2 separate regions of the Homo sapiens genome follow, and region 2 is linked to region 1. The links are contacts of gene promoters, found by promoter capture Hi-C in human tissues and cell types (Jung and others, 2019). All regions are on one chromosome and are shown on one strand. Each heading gives the region's core, a stretch centred on a gene start or on the middle of the fragment in contact. The rest is flanking DNA. Distances are from core to core; before and after follow the strand shown. Region 1 holds the start of PIK3CA (phosphatidylinositol-4,5-bisphosphate 3-kinase catalytic subunit alpha). Region 2 overlaps LOC107986053 (a long non-coding RNA gene).

Evidence for each region. Contacts are between HindIII fragments. The study calls those that stand out against the background at their distance.
Region 2: a fragment that was not itself captured here is called in contact with the fragment with the promoter of PIK3CA in region 1 in 1 of the 25 tissues and cell types used here (lymphoblastoid cells).

What each region holds. Positions count from the first base shown.
Region 1 is chr3:179,147,053-179,149,952 of GRCh38, reverse strand. PIK3CA (phosphatidylinositol-4,5-bisphosphate 3-kinase catalytic subunit alpha) reads right to left here and starts at 1,596. Exons shown (of 21, transcript NM_006218.4): 1 at 1,350-1,596. It overlaps PIK3CA-DT (PIK3CA divergent transcript), which reads left to right and starts at 1,980. Exons shown (of 3, transcript NR_125401.1): 1 at 1,980-2,037. RefSeq lists enhancers at 122-171, 733-1,232, 2,042-2,161, 2,772-2,881 and silencers at 972-1,021, 1,082-1,551. The HindIII fragment of the contact is 8,069 bases long and covers 1-2,900 here.
Region 2 is chr3:177,233,796-177,236,495 of GRCh38, reverse strand. The region is part of intron 2 of LOC107986053 (a long non-coding RNA gene); the gene reads right to left. Among named protein-coding and RNA genes, the nearest start is that of TBL1XR1, 38 kb to the right of the region's middle. The HindIII fragment of the contact is 8,518 bases long and covers 1-2,700 here.

The DNA of each region.
Region 1 (2,900 bases), core at 347-2,846:
AAGCAAAGTGTTTTGATTTATCCAAACTAACTTAGCAACACGGTATTTTGAGTATTTTCCAGAAGTTTTCTTAAAACACGCAATCCAGCACATAAACAAATTTTGTACGGTGCAATGTAAGCAAATACTCAGAAAAATTCAATTTCTAAGCAGGATAACATATGACCAATATTGCCCTCAGTGGTTCAAAAGTCGCAGTAGAAATAATCCCCTGAGATAACCTGGAATTTACCTACCCAAGTATTCTAAGGGGTTCTCCCCGGCCACACAAACTATGATTCAAAACATCGTTCCGAAAACCCAGGTCCTGCATGTGCACAAAGGCGCAGTGCTGGAATGAGGAAGCTTCACCAAGATGAAATCACAACTCTAATTCATTAAAGAATATGCAGACTGTTTTCTAGAAAGACCCTCTTGTTGCGCTCCCTTTACCCTACCCTTTATTTAACCATGTAAACAGTCTCAATTATTGACATAAAAAAATAGCTTTCGATTCCCAAGTCTGGTAACACGGTTGGCCACCATCACTATTCCTTTAGCATCCTAAAATAAACCCCTCGAGCCGAGGTCAAAAACACGCCGGCTGAACGTCTGGTGTTTACATAGCCCAATCCCGGGCCCTACCCTACCTTTCCGAGCCACTTAAGAGCCATGGAACAGGCATCACATAATACACTTAGTAAAGAGACAAGTCACATGAGTCAGTGTCTCAGGTCTATGAATGAAAGATCTAAGCGTTTGTCTCAGCTAAAAGGAAAAAACAACCTCGAAAGGAAGGGTGGGAGGGGAGCTGGCGGGGGTGAGGGGAGCGGTGTTCCTTCCATACCCCTGCCGGGCGATTTAAACCCAGTAAGAGGCAAACGCAGGGCCGCCAGGCTGGCGGGGCCGGAGTCCTCGGGCGTGACAGCCCCTCAAGAAAAGCTCGCGGTTTCGCGCCCGCGTCCCTTGAGCCGCAGTCCTCGCGGCAGCCCCTCCACCCGCGGGCTGGGTGGGCGTGCAGGGCGCGGGAGACAGAGCCACCGCGGCCGGGGCGGCGGCCCTGGGCGCACTTCCTCAACCTCCAGCCGCCCCGTCCCCAAAACTGGGAGTAGAAGCAAAGGAAGAGCGAGGCGGCAGCCAGAGAGAAAGGAGAGGGAGCGGCGAGCCCTCGCCTCTGCAGCTAGGAGAGGCCAGAGGCAGGCGAGGGAGAGGGTGCGGCGATCGCAGGCGAACTCCGCCGCGGGCCGACGCTGGGAGACGACCAGCCCGTAGCCTCCGCCCAACACGGCGGGCGCGCCCGGGAGTCTCCGGCACCCACCCGGTCCCCATTCCCACCGCACCCGCTACCGGCCAGTCCGCGCTCTACTCACGCTCGGGGCTCTTCCAGGCTCCGCGGCTCTAACCGCATCGGGTCCCAGCCCCGCGGGCGGCGGCGGCGGCGCCGAGGGAGAGGAGAGCGGGCGGCACGGCCCCCGCCTCCCGGCCCCTCTCCCCCGCCGCTCCGGAGCTGCCCGGCCGGGCCCGAGCCCTGCCTCGCCGGCGGCCCCAGCCCCAGTCCCAGCGGCCGCGGCAGCAGCAGCCCGACACCTCAGCGGCCGCAGCGGCGGCACCGGAACTGCCGCTTTCTACTTCTCGCTCCCTCTCCTCGCTAGCCCCCGCCACACGCCCCCGCCCCCGACTCCTTTCTCCGTCGCCCCTGTTTTTTTTTCCTTTTGTTTCCAGAATAAACTTTATTGGTCTCTTTTTCCGCTCACATCGTGTAAACAAACAACGAACTCTTCCCCACCCCCTCGGCCCCCCCCCTCCTCCGGCAGAAGAGGGTAAGAGCTGAGGAGGGGCAGAGCCTACAATCCCCCGGAAGCAGATGCGCAAAGAAGCGGAAGCGAAATTGAGGCGAGGAGGAGCAGGGAGTGGGCAAATAGGGTAACAATATGTGCTACTGCGCCTGCGTCTTGCTTTTCCGCCCGAAGTTTATGTACAGTTGGGGCTGCTCTTCTGACGTTTGTTTAATGATCCGTCTTCTGCAGTAGTGAGGGTGTTGTGTCATCCTAGGACAGCGTACGTGTAGTATATTTGTTTCTACGAGCAGCAGGCGAGCTGGGGTAGAGATATAGAAAGGAATATTGGGAGCAAGTGGGTTATTTCACTTTTACACCCATAGAGGAAACGAGATTAGTTCGGGGGTGAGAGGAGGTGCGGTGGCTAACCGCCGCTGTCAGTGGCTAACCAGCGTGGTTATGGATTCTATAATAGAAAGAATGCTTTTTACAAAGCGTTGCTGTGCGTTCTTCTGCCGACATGGTTTAAGTTGTATACCATCCCGAAGGCGGAATGCACTGTCACAGCCCTCTGCAGTCCTTTGACTCACTTCGTGGAGACCTTTTGCTATGCCCTCATTTTTTTTTTTAAATCGAATTCTGATTCGAAGCAGCTTGTAGGATTCAATTCTAACTATTCAGAAGACGTGGGGGATTTTTCGCGTAATGCCAACAGAGACTTCAGAAATGTCATATAGGCTATAGATTTGATTCAAGGTAGTGTCTTGGTGCTGCGTACCTTAGAAGTCTGTTTGCTTGAGAGTAAATCAATCTGTTGACTTTTGAGATTACTACTGATAAGGGTTCGGTACTGTGCGTTTTTCTCCCCCTACTGGTCTTTTGTTGTAATATTGGAAAAGCGTAGGAGCAGTGATTAGAAGTCTGAGATACAAGTACTCCAGCATCGGTTCCTCCTTGAATTTTTAAGTAATAGAGGGCTTGGGAAGTGACCCATCCTAGAGATGTTACAGTCCTACTTGTCCTCTAGAGCAAAACTCTGACCAATAACAGTCTTCTCGAACACCGCACGTCCGTCCATACCCCAATGGTAAATGAGATGGATCTGTTCCTCTTTGTGGTCGTAGTTTCACTTGACTGTATTTC
Region 2 (2,700 bases), core at 132-2,631, 1.9 Mb after region 1:
AAATACAAAAATTAGCCAGGCATTAGTGGCGTGTGCTTGTAATTCCAGCTATTTGGAAGGCTGAGTCAGGAGAATCGCTTGAACCCAGGAGGTAGAGGTTACAGTGAGCCGAGATCATGCCACTGCACTCCAGCCTGAACGACAGAGTGAGACTCTGTCTCAAAAAAGGAAAAAAAAAAAGAATTGCAGGGAAAAGTTGTTACCATACCACCTTTCTGCTCATGAGCTGGAGAATTTGTAGTTTGTCATACACACATACAGAATGAAGAAAATTACCTCATCATGTACAAACAAAACATTTTAGATGGGGTAAAGAGCCAAATATAAAAAGAAACCTATAAAGGTATTTTCTAACACAGAGAAAAGCATGATTATTAACCTTAGGCTAGGGAAGCCCATCTTAAGCAACACAAAGTATAAAACCTATAGGGAAAAAAAGAGTGATTTTTTTTTTTTTTTGAGATGGAGTCTCACTCTGTTGCCCAGGCTGGATGCAGTGGCGCCATCTTGGCTCACTGCAAGCTCCACCTCCCGGGTTCAAGTAATTCTCCCGCCTCAGCCTCCACAGTAGCTGGGATTACAGGTGCAGGCCACCATGCCCAGCTAATTTTTCTATTTTTAGTAGAGACAGGGTTTCACCATGTTGGTCAGGCTGGTCTTGAACTCCTGACCTCATGATCCGCCTGCCTCGGCCTCCGCAAGTGCTGGGATTACAGGCGTGAGCCACTGTGCCTGGCCTAAAAGAGTGATTTTTTCACTATATGAATATTAAAGCTTCTCTTTGACAGAAGACACCACGAAGTTGAAAGACAATTGATATACTGGGAGAATATATTTACAACTTGTTCAACACAAAAAAGAATTAATGTTCACAATACATAAGGAACCCTAAACATTAAAAAAGACCAAAAAAGGCAGGGCATGGTGGCTCACGCCTGTAATCCCAACATTTTGGGAGGTTGAGGCGGGCGGATCACTTGAGGTTGTGAGTTTGAGACCAGCCTGGCCAACATGGTGAAACCCCATCTCTACTAGAAATGCAAAAATTAGCCGGGCGTAGTTGTGGGTGCCTGTAATCCCAGCTATTTGGGAGGCTGAGGCAGGAGAATCGCTTGAATCCAGGAGGCAGAGGTTTCAGTGAGCCAAGATCGCGCCATTGCACTCCAGCCTGGGCGACAGTGCGAGACTCCATCTCAAAAAAAAAAAAAAAAAGAAAAGAAAAGAACAACAACAACAAAAAAACCCCAAAAATCAATGCTCTGCAGAGGAAATACCAAAGGCCAATTAGCTTACAAAGAGATTTTTTACCTCAGTAATAAGAAAAAAAAATTAAAACAGCGATGAGATAGATGGCAAAAATCAAAATGATTAATAGGAGTCTAAGAAACACTATACAGAATTATACCAGGCCCGGCATGGTGGCTCACACCTGTAATCCCAGCACTTTGGGAGGCCGAGGCAGGTGGATCACGAGGTCAGAAGTACGAGACCAGCCTGGCCAACATAGTGAAACCCAGTCTCTACTAAAAATACAAAAATTAGCCAGAGTGGTGGCGCACACCTATAGTCCCAGCTACTCGGGAGGCTGAGGCAGGGAGAATCGCTTGAACCCAGGAGGCGGAGGTTGCAGTGAGCCGAGATCGCGCCACTGTACTCCAGCCTGGGTGACAGAGCGGGACTCTTGTCTCAAAGAAAAAAAAAAAAATAGACCTTCCCTTACAGTGATGGTGAGAATATAGATGGCAGTGCCTCTTTCTGAGGGCTATTTGTCAGTGGTTCTTAAAATGCATATTCTCTTCAACCCAGCTCTAGCTTTTTATCTTACAGAAATTTGTATGTACACAAAAATGTACGGGCAGGATATTCATTGAAGCATCATTCATAGTAGGAAAAAATGAAAAACCAGCCTAAATGCTCAACAATAGTGGAGTGTGAACTAAATTATAGAGCATCTATGCCATAGACTCTTACACAAAGCAGTAAAAAAGAATGAGAGGAATGTAATTAAAATTTCAGGAAAAACAAAAACAAAACTCCGTGAGAAAAGGTGCGATGCTAATATTTTTAAATGTGCCATGATTTTGAGCATTTGGTAGATTGGAACAGGGAGAATTCATTGTATTCATTCTTTGACTATTACCAGTGTTGTCATATTGGAACAATAGAGCAGGAAATACATCACATTGTTTATCTCTGCAGTGAATAATATTTACATAGTCATGATAACTTAAGTGCTGTTTATTACTTTTCATCTTTTAGAATCAACCTATAGTCCAAACACAGTGGCTCATGCCTGTAATCTCAATACTTTGGGAGGCTGAGGCAGGCAGACCACTTGAGCTCAGGAGTTTGAGACCAGCCTGGGCAACACAGTGAGACCTCATCTCTACCAAAAATTTAAAAATAAAAATTAGTCTGGCATGATAGTGTGCGCCTGTAGTCCCAGCTACTCAGGAGGCCAAGGTGGAAGGATCGCTTGAGCCCAGGAGATTGAGGCTGCAGTGAGCCATGATTGCACCACTTCACTTTAGCCTGGGTGACAGAATGAGATCCTGTCTCAAAAAAAAAAAAAAAAAAAAGAAAAGAAAAAAAGACAAGAATCGACCTATAAAACATTAAATACTTAAGGTTTAAAAGATCCAAAATGTTGGCCGGGCACGGTGGCGGGCGCCTGTGATGCCAGCTACTCGGGAGGCTGAG